2 separate regions of the Homo sapiens genome follow, and region 1 is linked to region 2. Evidence: promoter capture Hi-C in 16 types of primary human blood cells and fetal thymus (Javierre and others, 2016). All regions are on one chromosome and are shown on one strand. The core of a region is centred on a gene start or on the middle of the fragment in contact, and the rest is flanking DNA. Distances in the headings are between cores, read along the strand shown. Region 1 holds the start of TMED9 (transmembrane p24 trafficking protein 9). Region 2 holds the start of RNF44 (ring finger protein 44).

Region 1 (7,381 bases), core at 1-2,500, 1.1 Mb before region 2:
GAGAGTCTGACATTAGGGTGGCAAGTGACTGACTGCTCTTGGGAAGGGCTTTCCTTTATAGCTTATGCCCTTTCAACTTTTTTGGTGTGAGTTGTTTTTTGGGGGGTTCTTTTTTGTTTTTGTTTTTGAGACAGAGTCTCACTCTGTCGTCCTGGCTGGAGTGCAGTGATGCTATCTCAGCTCACTGCAGCCTCAGCTTCCCAGGTTCAAGCAATTATCGTGCCTTAGCCTCCCAAGTATCTGGTATTAGAGGTGTGCGCCACCACACCCGGCTCATTTTTTTTTTTTTTTTTTTTTGTATTTTTACTAGAGACGGGGTTTGCCAGACGGAGGTTGCCCAGGCCGGTCCTGAACTCCCGGCCTCAAGTGATCCACCCGCCTCGGCATCCCAAAGTGCTGGGATTACAGGCAAGAGCCACCACACCCCGCCATGAGTTTTTTAACGAAAAGTGACAGAAGGTGAGAGCTGAAGGGTTTTGCCGTTCGTTTTAATATCCTTACTTGGGAAGATTAAAAGCTGCTCATTTTGTGGGGAAAGTATCATGTTCTGTGAAATCTTAAAGTCTAGATGACTTTAAGAGTTGACAAAACTCTTTGATTTTTATCACCACAATTAATCCGCCCATTTCACAGACCGGGCGGGGTCTGCAAGTCAGCAGGATATTCCCACAACATCAACTGTCTCTCCCACTTTAGCAGATGCAGGAACTAGAAGAGGAAGTACCGGAGCCCGCCTAGCTGAGAGGCTGGCGGAGAGGAGGGGGGCGGTTGGCTCACCTTGTCCTCTGGGTCCTTCACCTCCACAAACATGCCAAGCCCCGGGGTGGCCGGCTGGTACTCCTCCCGCTGCTTGTCATACAGCTGCGTCCGGTAGTTTCCTTGAGGGAAGCAGGGCGAGCCCAGGTCAGAGGAGCGCGAGGTGGCATGGGTTCCGCGACCGCCTGGGCACGGCGAGGCCGTCTCCTCCCGGCTCTAGAGAGCTGACTGTCTCGCATCCCCCGCCCCAAGACCACGGTCACGTTCCAAACTCGCCCCTTCCTCCCCGCCCCCGCACCTATGACCATGGTCTCGTCCGGGATCTCCTCAATAAAGCACTTCTTCTCCGTCTCTCCGATGTGAAAGTAGAGCGCGCTTCCGCGCGTCGCCAGCCACAGCACCAGCAGGAGGGTCCGCATCACTCTACCCAGCCCGGTTCCGGGCCGGGGCCGGACGAGCAGCACGCCCAGCTCCACAGCCATCTTGCTCCACCTGCCTGCGCAGCCGCAGCCGGCCGCGCCACGTCGCCCTGCCGCCGCCGCGGTGCCTGCCGGGACCGCGAGTTCCGCCGGGTGGACCACAAATCCCGAGATGTCCCGCGGCCCTGGCGCGGCAGTACCTGATTGGGGCGCGGCTTTTACCTGAGAGAGAGCGGGTGCCCTAGAATAAAAACTTATTTCCGTTGACTCTCTTCATGGCCTGGCAACTGACGATGGTTACCAGCTTTTCATAGATGAAACTGAGGTCGTTTGTTTGAGGTTGCGGAGCGAATTGCGAACAGAGACAGGATTCGAACCTAGGATCCCTGACTTTCCTTGGCACAGCATCTACCAGTCTTGATTTGCTTCTACCTTTAAAAATGAATTTAAAGAGAACGACCAAATAATGCACAAATGTATTATCAAAAAAGATTAAAAGAAATAAAAGGCAAGGTCTCCCATTACCACTTCTTTGTCCTCATACCCTGTCCACTCCTAAATCGGGTGTTACCCTCTCAAGCATTTCTCCGATCACACACACACACAAACACACACACAGCCTCTGCTGCCAGATCCCAACTGCAATGGCTCGTTACTAGCAATTCTACAGAAATAGAAAGGATCATAAGAGAGTACTATGAGCAAATATAAGCCAACAAATTGGATAACGTAGATGAAATGGACAAATTCATAGAAATGCAAAACTGACTCAGAATAGATAATATAATCTGAATAAACCTATAACTAGTGAGGAGATTGAATCAGTAATTTAAAAAAAATCATCCTTACTTAATATAGTTAAGATGTCAATACTATCCAAAGCAATCTACAGATTTAATGCAATTCCTGTCAAAATCCCAATGACATTTTTTGTAGAAACAGAGAAACTCATTCTACAATTCATATACTCTCAAGGGATTTCGATTAGCCAAAACAATCCTGAAAAATAAGAATAAAGCTGAAGAACTCACACTTCCTGATTTCAAAACTTACTTCCAAGCTTCAGTCATCAAGACAGTGTGGTACTGGCATATAGACAGACATATAGACCAATGGAATACAATAGAGAGCCCCAAGATATGCCCTCCCATATATGGTCAAATAATTTTTAACAAGGAGACCAAGCCCATTCAATGCGGGGAGGAGGGACAGTCTTTCTAACAAATGGTGCTGGGAAAACTGGATATCCACATGCAAAAAAGTGAAGGTGGTTCCTTCTCTAACACCATAGATAAAAATTCACCCAAAAAGACCCACAACTTTTAAAATCCCAAAGCATAAAACTCATAGAAAACATATGGCAAAGGGTTTACCACATCGGATTTGGCAACAGACTTCCTGGATATGACACTAAAGGCACAGGCAACAAAAGAAAAAATAGACAAATTGGACTTTATGAAAATTAAAACATTTTGTGCATCAAAAGACTCTGTAGCAGAGTAAAGAGGCAACCCACAGAATGGAAGAAAATATTTGCAAATCATATATCTGACAAAGGATTAATATCCAGAATATGCAGAGACTCCTAAAACTCAGCAACAAAATAAGAACAATCTCATTCAAAAACCACAACAAAGGGCTTGAATAGACATTTCTCCAGTGATCAACAAGTGGCCAGTGAGCACATGAAAAGATACTCAACATCACTAATCATTAGAGAAACACAAATCACAATGAGATAAAGAACAATGAGATACTACGTCATATACCCATTAAGATGGCCACTAGAAAAAAAAAAAGGAAAAGAAAGAAACTACAAGCATTGGCAAGGATGTGGGGAAATTGAACCCTTGTGCACTGTTGGTGGGAATGTAAAATGGTACAGACACTGTGGAAAACCGTATAATGATTCCTCAAAAAAGTGAAAATAGGCTGGGCATGGTGGCTTACGCCTATAATTCCAGCGCTTTGGGAGGCAGAAGCAGGAGGATTGCTTGAGCCCAGGAGTTCGAGACCAGTCGGGGCAACATGACGAAACCCCATCTCTACAAAAAATACAAAAATTAACTGGATCTGGTGGCATGCGCCTGTAGTCCCAGCTACTCAGGAGGCTGAGGCAAGAGGATTGCTTGAGCCTGGGAGGTCAAGGCTACAGTGAGCTGTGATCATGCCACTGCACTCCAGCCTGGGTGACAAAGCAAGACACTGTCTCAAAATAAATAAATAAAAATAGAATTACCATATGATTCAGCAAGTCCATATCTAGAGATATCCTCAAAATAATTAAAAGTAGGGTCTCAAAGAGATATTTGTACACATATGTTCACAGCAGCATTATTCACAAGCAAAAAAAAAAATGGAAGCAACCCAGTTCTTCATCAGTAGATGAATAGATAAGCAAAATATGGTACATCCACACAATGGAAATCCTTTCAGCCTTAGAAAGGATGGGAATTCTGACACATGCTACAACATAGATGAATCTTGAAGAAACATTACGCTAAGTGGACTAAGCCAGACATAAAATGATAAATACTGGGTAATTCCATGTATATGAGGTACTAGAGTCGTCAAAATCACAGAGACAGAAAGCAGAATGGTGGTTGCCAGGGACTGGAGGACAGGGAGAGTGAAGTTATTGTTTAATAGGTATAGAGTTTCAGTTTTCCAAGATAAAAAGAGTTCTGTAGATGGATGGTGGTGAGAGTTCTATGGCAATATAATGTACTTAATCCCACTGAAGTGTACAGTTAAAAACAGTCAACTTTGGCCGGGCACGGTGGCTCACGCTTGTAATCCCAGCACTTTGGGAGACCGAGGCGGGAGGATCACAAGGTCAGGAGATCGAGACCTGCCTCACCAACATGGAGAAACCCTGTTTCTACTAAAAATACAAAATTAGCCTGTGTGGTGGCACATGCCTGTAATCCCAGCTCCTCGGGAGGCTGAGGCAGGAGAATTACTTGAACCTGGGAAGCAGAGGTTTGGTGAGCTGAGAAGGCACCTTTGCATTCTAGCCTGGGCAACAAGAGTGAAACTCCATCTCAAAAAAAAAAACAAAAGTGTGGTAGAATGCTCCAGTGTAATCATCTGGGCCTTGAAATTTCCTTTTGGGGAGTGTTTTAATTATGAATTAAATTTCCTTAATAGCTATAGGGCTATTCAAAGTATCTATTTCATACTAGTAAGTTGTGATAGTGTGTGCTTTTTGAGTAATTGATCTATTTTGCCTAAATTGTTACATTTATGTATGTAGAGGTTCAGTCAGGATGGTGGGGAAAATTATACAATAAAACACAAAACTTGGAAGGCCAAAAGGTTTTTGCTTAGCTTCAGATAGTTTGGCTGAAAGCGGCCTAATCCTCTTTGAGCCATAGCAAGGGTAAGTAACATAGGAATGTAGAGGAGTCTATCTAAATAGCTTGTTTACTCATGTGGTTCTAAAAGTAACCTTTAATCATTCGCGGGCAGGATGGCGCTCTGGGGGAGGCAGGGGAAGGCGACCAGGTTGATTACCCTCTAATGGTGTTTACTTGAGACTTTTGCTGTGTTTAATGTGTGCTAAGTAAATGACGAGAAGGCCAGCGAGTAGGAGGCGGGGAGTCGGGGCCACGTTGCAAATGTACAGCACTCTCCTGGGAGTCTGTAGGGGGCCTGGACAATCGGCCTGACTGACAAGCAGAATATCTGTGTCAGTGTACATTATTCATCTGTCGTTGAGTTGAGGTCTGCAGCACACACCCCCACATATGTATGTAAAGTTGTCCGTGGAATTATTCTCTTATGATCCTTCTGATGTGGGCAGGGTCTGTACTGATGTCACCCGTTTCATTACTGATACTGGTGATTTATGTCTTCTTTTTTCTGTATCAGTCTTGTAAGAGGTTTGTCAATTTTATCAGTCTTTTCAAAGAATCAGCTTTTTGTGTCATTGATTTTCTCTGTTGCTTTTCTGTTTTTAATTTCATTGGTTTCTGCTTGTTATTTTTTCCTCTTCTGCTTGCTTTGGATTTAGTTTGTTCTTCTTATTCTAGTGACTTGAAGTAGAAGTTTGTGGGGTTTTTTTGTTGTTTTGTTTTGTTTTGATTTTTGAGACAAGGTCTCACTCTGTCACCCAGGATGGAGTACAGTAGCAACATCTCGGCTCATCGCAGCCTCCACCTCCCAGGTTCAAGCGATTCTCCTGCCTCACCCTCCCAAGTAGCTGGGATTACAGGCATGTGTCACCATGCTCTGCTAATTTTTGTATTTTTAGTAGAGATGGGGTTTCACCATGTTGCCCAGGCTGGTCTCGAACCCCTGACCTCAGGTGATCTGCCCTCTTCAGCCTCCCAAAGTGCTGAGATTATAGGCATGAGCCACTGCACCCGGCCAGAAGTAGTTTAGATTATTGATTTGAGACTCCTCTTTTAGTTAGGATTTTGGTTGTACCTAGCCAGAGGAATGGAGAAAAGTATGTCTATATCATCTTCTCAGAAGCAGAAGTCCTAAACTATCAGGTATGTTTTAAAGAACAAAATTATTACAAATAAAATTAAATCCTTATTCCCTCCATCCCTTTCCAGATGCAGCTACTTTAATAACTTTGATTTATATCTATTCCACTAATAAGATATTTTAAAAATAGGCCGGGTGTGGTGGCTCACACCTGTAATCCCAGCACTTTGGAAGGCTGAAGCAGGAGAGCTGCTTGAGCTCAGGAGTTCACGACCAGACTGGGCAACATGGTGAAATCCTGTCTCTACAAAAAAATACAAAAATTAGCCGGGTGTTGTGGCTCGCACCTGTAGTCCCAACTACTTAGCCAGGCGTGGTGGCACATTCCTGTAGTCCCAGCTACTTAGGAGGCTGAAGTGGGAGGATTGCTTGAGCCCAGGAGGTCAAGGCTGCAGTGAGCTGTGATTGTGCCACTGTACTCTAGCCTGGGTGACAGTGAGACCTGTCTCAATAAATAAATAAATAAAAATTAAAAGAAAGAAATTATGGACCAGGTGCAGTGGCTCACGCCTGTAATCCCCACACTTTGGGAGGCCAAGGTAGATGGATCACCTGAAGTCAGGAGTTCGAGACCAGCCTGGCCAACATGGTAAAGCCCCGTTTCTACTAAAAATACAAAAATTAGCCAGGCATGATAGCACACACCTGTAATCCCAGCTACTCGGGAGCCTGAGGCAGGAGAATCACTTGAACCCGGGAGGCGGAGGTTGCAGTGAGCTGAGATCATGCCACTGCACTCCAGCCTTGGCGACAGAGTGACACTCTGTCTCAAAAAAATAAAATAAATTATGGCACACTTCTATAATTAAATATTATATCGCCATGAAAAAAGAATGGCCATCTGGTTATCAGTAAGAAATTGGTAACTATGCCTGCTTATATAAAAGAGGAACAGGGGTTTGGGGAGCTATTGTGGGAGAGGAAGCTGCTTTGTAAATGTTTTACTGAAGCATAAAAAAAAGACAGAAAAGTGCATAAGCTAAATGTTTACCTCTCAGTGAATTTTCATAAATTGAACACAATTTGTGAAAATACCAACACCAGATGCCATAAATGTGTATAGTTGCTGTCTCTGCATCTATTTTTGGGTCTGGCATAAGTTGTCTGAAGCCCAGCCATACCCTTTCACCTTTGGCCTAGTTAAAACTTCCCGTCCCCATGTAGTTGCCTCTGATATAATTCACTCATTCCTCATCCCACTAATTCAAAACCCAACACACCCCATAGCTGCTGACCACGATAAAACCTAATGGTCATCACTAGGGTCATGTAAATGTTTCCCCTTTCATGCATGCTTTCTTTAAAATGCTCAACATCACTAATGATCAGGGAAATGCAAATCAAAACCACAATGCAATACCACCTTACTCCTGCAAGGATGGCCACCATCAAAAAATCAAAAAATAATAGGTGTTGGTGTGGATGGAGTGAACAGGGAACATTTCTACACTGCTGGTGGGGATGTAAACTAGTACAGCCAGTATGGAAGACAGTGTGGAGATTCCTTAAAGAACTAAAAGTAGAACTACCATTTGATCCAGAAATCCCACTACTGGGTATCTACCTAGAGGAAAAGAGGTCATTCTACGAAAAAGATACTTGCACACACATGTTTATAGCAGCACAATTCACAATTGCAAAAATGTGGAACCAACCCAAATGCCCATCAATAAATAAACTGGTATATATATATATATATATATACACAC
Region 2 (7,093 bases), core at 738-3,237:
TGCTTTTATGTGGTGGGGAAAACAAAAGGTTGAAGGAGACATTGGAGGTAAAGGAACAGTTGATGATAAGGAACTGGGTAAAGACATAACCTTGTATAGCCACACTTATTCTCATGCACATGTAATTTTTAACTGTGATGGATAGAGTTTGGCGTTCCAGGGAGCATCGATAGCACTGCATCATGACCTTGCTCTTGTGTTGCTTAGAGATCTGCCGACAGCCGGCTCAGTTCCATCTTCAGTCATTGTGTTGCACAGTGATACGATCATTGCTGGTCTAAACATTGCCATAAACATGTCTGTTCCCCAAGCTGAAAGGGGGTTTCTGATTCTAAGGGAACAAAAGGTTTTCTGGCTTAAAAGACTTAAGACATAGTCTTTATAATAGCTTTCTTTAAAAATTTCAGTGGGTTATAATGCATAGGGTTTTTAAAAAAGAGCTAATGTGCAATATATACAATAGTCTATCCTACTGACCCAACTTCTCCCTTCCAGTTCTCCCTAAGGACAATTGTTAATCAGTTTCCTGTATACCCTTCCAGAAATATATGCAGATGTGGCATATGTCCAATTAAAGAAACCTGATACATACTGTTAGAACTGTTCAGCATCTTGGTTTCAATTTTTATATAAAATTTAGGATTACGAAATATACCAAAGCAGCATAGAAAATGAGCCCCCCATCCCCCTGCCCCATGGCCCACCACACAGGTTAACAGATGTTAACATTTTGCATTGGCGCCTTGTTTATGGCTGTCTTGGAGATAGCCCCGTGTCGCCTCCAGCTGCCTCTTTGTGGTAACTGCCCAAGAGTCGTTATTGATTATATGCATGCACCCAATATTCATTATTCGACCTGTTCCAGCTCTTGGATATTTAGCAAATTACTGATTTTCTGCTTATATAATTGTGGTGGAGGTAATACCCCATTTTGTATAAATTTTGCCCGGGTGGGTGGGCTTCGAGGCAAAGGAGAACGAGGCTCGGCTTTGGATTAGGTTCACACTCCTGCTCCGCCACACTTCTAGTTGTGTGATCTGGAGTAAGGGAAGGCCCTCACTTTCCCCATCTGTAAAATGAACTGGCTATAGTAATCCCTCCGTCTCATAGCTGCTGAGAGGAATAGAAAACTAAAGTATAGACGCTTCACTGGGCTTAGTTCCCAGTTTCCCTGGCTAGGGAGGTCTCCGCGGGGACACCAAACTCTCAAGCCCAGCCTAGCAGCTAGAGCGCCCAGCGCCTGCACTTTTGCTTTAAACTACAACCTGTTCCCCGCCTCTCTTCCTCCACCGCCACGCTGGGGGCGTGGCGGTTAAATGTCTCTGTGACGTCAGCGCGAGCAGGGCCAATCTCCTTGCCCGGCAGACGTTAGCTCGTTTGCATGGGTGGTCCGCCATTGGTCTGTTGGGCAATCTGGGCCGTACCAGCTTTTTAAAGACGCCGTGTAGTATAAACAAGGAGAAGTGGGGCGGCCGGGCCATGATGTCAGCGCGGTGCTGCAGCTCTTGGGGGTGACGTCATCTCCGGGAAGGTGGCCGGCCCAGGGTTGTTAGAGCCAGCATAACCACTTGGGCCGCTCTCGCCCCGTCAGAGGTCAGACCCATTGCACTTCAGTATCTCAGGCGGCACCCTGTCCCCGAGGAGGGGACCATGACACAGTAAGTCCGTACTGCCGGTTCTCCTGGCGGGACCCATTTCTTCGGCAGGGAAACTGAGCCTCAGAGGCGCGAGTAGTTAGCGAGTTTGCATAGCAAGTTCGAGTTGCAGCCGATCGGTTTTGCCCACCCTGGGGTCTCCCCATCTTTATGTCAGGATATGCGGCCCCGCCCCTTGCTTTTGACTATGGCTGCGGTCCCTTTAAGTGCGAAGGTGGGGGCGAGGAGGAGGTTAAAAAAATTCAAGATGGTGGCCCACTAGTCACGTGCGTGGTCGCGGCGAGTGATTGGCTCTCAGGGCGGAGCTCCCGGCGCGGGGCGGGGCCCCTGCGGGCTTGCAGCGGGCTACTGTTTGCCGGAGCCTCCCGGCGCGCCCCCGCGAGCCCCCTCCCGTCTGGCGCGCGACCCCGCCGCTTCGAATGTTGTGAATCAAATGTGGGGTTTGTTACATTCCGCTGCCGCCGCGGACAGTTCTTAAAGGGCCAGCCGCCGGCTGCCGCGCAGACCCAGCTGCGTCCTGCGCCGCCTCCCGCTCCCTGAGGGCCTGGGCCGAGAGAGACTGATCGCGCGTGGGCCTCGCGAGGCAGACGCCGTCGGGCGGACAACAAAGAGAGAGGCCCCGGAAGGAGCCGGGCTGCCCCCGGACCCGGGGGTGGGGAGGGGAGCACATTGTTCCGCAGGGCGGGAGCTCTTAAAGGATCCAGACAGGCACCCCCCCCCTCCCCCGCCCCCTGCCCAGTTTGGCCGTCCTAGATCGGGAACAAAGGAGTCAACGTGTGGCCGGGCGGCCAAAGGTGAGTCGGTGCCAGGGCCCCCAACTTCCTATTCCCCCACCCATGGACCTTCTGTTCCCCTCCCCTGGGAATGGGGGCCGTGATCTAGGTGGCTCCGTAGGGGTTAATCACGGGCGGTCCAGACTGCGGGCAGCGAGACCCCAGGGATCAGGAACCCCCCCCAAGGCCCCCCGTGGCCGGGCCGTATCTCCCCTCTCCTGCAGCTGAGCGCTGCGGTTGGAGAGGAAGGAGCCGCCCCCCTCCCCCTGCGGCCGCCACTTCCTTTGTTGTTGCTTTTGTCTCACGCCGAGCACATGGTCCGGGATCCTCGGCTCTTAAAGTCGCAGCGTTCTGGCCCCTGCGCTGCAGTCTCGCCTCCCGCCCCCGGTGTCCCTCCGAGAGCGGCGCAAAAGAGTAGGAAGCGGACGAGGGAGGCCCCTCTCGGGGCTGTGTCCGCGCCTCGGCCCCCCAGCACTATGCCTGGGGAGGGGTGGCTGGGTAAGCTTCCCAGAGCCCCACAGCGTGCACTTGGCCCGCGTTGGGGAGCCCCCCCTTCCCCAGGACCCTGGTTTCCTCCCCCACTAGTGTGACCACCTGGTTTCTTCTGGACTCTTCTGGTTTTATTTGGGCGCTGTGGGAAGGAAAGATTTCCACCCCCATTTTATAGCTGTGCCAACTGAGGCGCTCAGAAGCAAAGGGATTTCCTTGACCAAGGTCACTAGGGAGTCTTCTCTCCTAGTCTGGTGGTCCGGCCCTCAGCGGCCTCCAGGCACCACACGTTGGGAAGCTCTGCTTGCGCTGGGCAGAGCCTGCTTGTTTCGGGTGGGGTGTGGGGAAGTAGGAAGGGGGGCTTCTCTTCCTGGCTGAGTCTGCTCATGCCCCCAGGGTCTGACTTTGTTTTTATCTGCAAAAGGGAGTGTCTCTTCCTGCAAACAGATCCCTGGGGCTCTTAGACCAAGGTCAGGGTAGGTGCTTGGGGCACTGGACTTAAGGGGTTGGCCGGCTCTCATGGGTGGGTGTGGGGGGTTATGTTAACTGCAAAATGCATTGCGTGCCTGGGGCGGACGGGGCTCAGCGACGGGACTCTCAAGACCCGTTCACACAGAGCTCCGTGATAGGACAGCATGGAGATGTGGACGGGCAGAGCAGTTGTTAGGGGAGGCCACCTGGCCACCCTTGCTATTTGACCTTGAGCAAGTTGCTAGCTCCAACTCTGGGCCTTGCTTGCTTCTCTGTACTACAGAGCTAAAGATGGGTGCCTGAAAGAGAGTGCTCTCCCAGCCTCCTGTATGGCTTGGAGACTCGGGATTAGGTGATTTCCTCCAGCTACTGATGCCACAGGAGTTATGGCTTGGGGGAGTTTGGGCCTAGGAGGCCAACTAGGACCAATTCCGTTCTCTCTGGTCTTGTGGCCTAGAGTAACTTACTTCCTTTCTCTCGGCTCCAGTTTTCTCAGCCATGAAGTGGGTGTAACCCTTCTACGCCACCCCTGTTCCTGGCAGGGCTTAAAGAACCAGGATCCACTCTTACCAGCTGAGGTATTCCCCTAGAGTGGCATATCTGCCTGCTGCCCCGGAAGTGGCACCCTTCAAGCTCTGCTTGAGGTTGGAAATGGAGGTCAGCGTGTCGTATTCGCTAATAATGATCATTCACACCCAAGCTAAGTTCAAACTTTACAAGTTGCTTCTGCTGTTGCCTTGGAGCAGTCCTTGATGGGAAACTGGGAGGTAGTTATTGGGCTGTTCCCATTTTACAGATGAAGATACTGAGGCTCGGGAGGGGAAGCCCTTGCCCACGGTCTGTAGGCAAGAATCTCGCTAGAAGTCACTGTCATGTGTGAGTCTGTGAGGGCTGACATTCTTACCCACGGCTGGAGGCCCTTCTGTCTCCTGGCTTGCTTTCACAGCTCCTTACCACCTTCCCTGCCCTGGGGAGTGGGTGCCTTTGTAGGGGGCTGGCCACAGAGCAGACACCCACAGGCCTGGGCCTCTGCAGGAGTGCCTTGGGCCTGGCACTACTCAGCCATCTGCAAGACATCCTGACATAAGAGGAGCAGTCAAGGCTGCTGGCTTGGTGGCTAGTCATGGGTGCTTTATGGCCAGACTGCTTAGGTCATGCACCTGCGCACTCACGATTCCAGCTGACTGGCCTTGGACCTCACCTCTCTGAGCCTTGGTGTCCTGACCTGCCAGTGTTGCTGGGAGGACTCACCAAGTTGGCGCCGGGGAAACAGCATGGTTATTATGGTGACTGTTCTGCACCAGCAGAACTATGGGCTCCCCAGCTTTCTGAGGTTAGCTAGGGTAGAGATTCCCAAATCTAGCTGTGCTGTGACAACTTCTGGGGAATTTGTTAAACATCTAGGTGCCCTTGTTCCCCATCCCTCCAAAGTGTCTGGTCCAGGAGGACTGGGATGGGCCAGGCATCTGCTGTTTCAGTTATTTGGGGATTTCCTGAGTCTCCCTTGGCCGTTGTTTGCTTGGCTGGTTTGTTGGCAGGAGTTCGGGAGGCTGTGTGTGTAGACATGCCTGTCAGGGTGTGCACTTGGCCCAGGCCAGGGGTCACAAACCCATTCCCCGATGATGGGCAGGCAGAGGTTGGGCCTGGGTGACCTGGAGGGAAAGCTCTCGCTCCCAGTGAGGGGGCCAGGCAGAAACAAGTGGGACCAGGCTTGCCATGAGAAGCCAGGTGTTTTGTAATCTCCCAACTGTCAGTTGTTGGCATTGCTGCCAGACTGGGTGACCTTGGACCTGTGTGATTGGCTCTGTTCCGTGCACATTTCTCACATCAGGCCTGCCCTGAGCTGGACACAAGGTGGTCCCTGGCCCTGCCCACACCCTCTGCTGGTCGGGCCCCGGTCTCCCATGCGGGCTCCTTTTGAGAAGCAGGGCCCAGGCTTGTGAAGTGCAGCACAGAGGAAATGGTTCTTGCCGCTGTTGGCAGGAAGGAACTAGGTGTTGAGCTGACAGTTACACTGGCTCCCTGGCTGTGTCAACAGGGAGGTGACATTGAAAGCTGGGTATCAAGGATGCATAGGAGTTTTGTTAGATGGGGAAGGGATGGAACGAGCCTCCCTGTGGCAGGAACAACAAAGATCTGGTCCTGTTGGACGCATCCTTCAGCTTTGCAGGGCCTGACAGGTTCTAGAGCTTTTCCTGCCAGGGCCTCGTCCCAACTTTGAGTTGAGCGGAACCCTGAGGTTGAGCCAGGTCCCTCGACATCCTCCACCTGGACCCTCATCTCTGACCGGAGGCAGGAGACCCTGCCCCAACCCATTCCTATTCAGCTTCCTCTCTCGGGTTCTTCCTTCCTTTTTTTCTCAGCAGGCACCACCTCCCACTTTGAGGGCTGGGTTGGGGGCCCCAGAGCAAGGGCCTGGCTGCATGCCAGACTCCACAGTCTCCCCAGGCTGACTTCCTTCATCACCTCCCATGAAGCCTGGGGCTGGTCCTCTCCGTCGGCAGCAGAGCACAGGGAGAGGCTTTCTTTGGCCCACCTCCCAGCTTTAACACTTTACGGTGGGGCTTTGGGCAAGTTTCTTCTTGCTGAGCCTCAGTTTCCTCCCCCGTAAAATGGGCCAGCTATACATTCCTTGAAAGGTAGATGAAGTCACTCGTGGATAGGCACAGTGGGAGCAGGTTAAGGAAAGAAAGAATAGTGTCTTGCTTTGGACTGGAAGCCCCCGAGGGCAGGAGCGGGTTAGAACCTCTTGCCTGGCACCAGTAAGAGGAGAACTGGGTCCCAGGCCTGTTTGGAATCCCTGCTGGAACCAGCCAGAGGGAAGGGAGGATGTGGACCCTCCTCAGGAACCCCCAGCTGCCGCCTGGAGGCCAAGTTGTAGCCCCTGGTGTAAGGCAGAGAAAGGTCTGGCCCTAAGCCCCTTTCCAAGACAGGGTGCCCTGAGACCCCGCCCAGCAGGAGCCTACCAGGAACCCACTGGCTTGGAAGCACGCTGGCCAGCTCGCTGAGCTCCGCAACTGAGGGGGACTGGGTCCCATTTCACACAGCAGGAGGGTGAGGCCTGGGTGCTGGCAGGCTGAGCTGTCCTGGCGTGTCAGCACTGGACCCCAGGGCTCGGAGGAGGGGCACGGCTGAACACCATTGGTCCCTGGGGTCACACTGCAGAGGTTTGGTTCTGTCTCCTGACCCCTCATGGCACAAGCGCCTGGACTTCTCTGTGCCTCAGTTTCTTTCTTTTTTTTTTTTTTTTTTTGAGACGGGAGTCTCGCTCTGTCACCAGACTAGAGTGCAGTGGTGCGATCTCAGCTCAGCTCACTGCAACCTCCGCCTCCCGGGTTCAAGCGATTCTCATGCCTCAGCCTCCCAAGTAGCTGGGATTACAGGTGTCCACCACCATGCCTGGCTAGTTTTTGTATTTTTAGCAGAGACGAGGTTTCACCATGTTGGCCAGGTGCCTCAGTCTTCTTGTCTCCTTGCCTCCTAGGGTTGTGAGTCCCGGCCCAGCCCCTCCACCCCCCTGCCCCCCCGATGCGACCATGGGCTCTGGCAGTGACTAGGTGGCCACCCTCCGCCCCCGTGGGCCAGCGGCGATTCTCTGCGGGACCTGGCAGCACCCCGGGCCAGCTCTGGGGAAGGTAGGAAGGAGCCTCCCAGTCCTGGTGCTGGGGCATGGGGGCCAGCAGGGGTGGGGCGCAGGGCCCTGAG

The links. The method cuts DNA at HindIII sites, captures the fragments that hold promoters and counts their contacts. A CHiCAGO score of 5 or more calls a contact.
Region 1: a contact is called between the fragment with the promoter of TMED9 here and the fragment with the promoter of RNF44 in region 2, in 1 of 17 cell types (monocytes). The highest score is 6.6, in monocytes.

Annotation. Positions count from the first base shown.
Region 1 is chr5:177,586,072-177,593,452 of GRCh38, reverse strand. It overlaps TMED9 (transmembrane p24 trafficking protein 9), which reads right to left and starts at 1,250. Exons shown (of 5, transcript NM_017510.6): 1 at 1,055-1,250; 2 at 778-878. The coding sequence starts at 1,238. RefSeq lists an enhancer at 1-45. The HindIII fragment of the contact is 2,414 bases long and covers 1-2,237 here.
Region 2 is chr5:176,532,296-176,539,388 of GRCh38, reverse strand. RNF44 (ring finger protein 44) reads left to right here and starts at 1,987. Exons shown (of 11, transcript NM_014901.5): 1 at 1,987-2,449; 2 at 6,873-7,023. The coding sequence starts at 6,917. LOC124901143 (a long non-coding RNA gene) reads right to left here and starts at 1,460. Exons shown (of 2, transcript XR_007059071.1): 1 at 1,266-1,460; 2 at 92-331. RefSeq lists enhancers at 994-1,173, 1,414-1,853, 4,600-5,269, 5,440-5,659 and silencers at 1,964-2,223, 2,304-2,493. The HindIII fragment of the contact is 3,937 bases long and covers 1-2,933 here.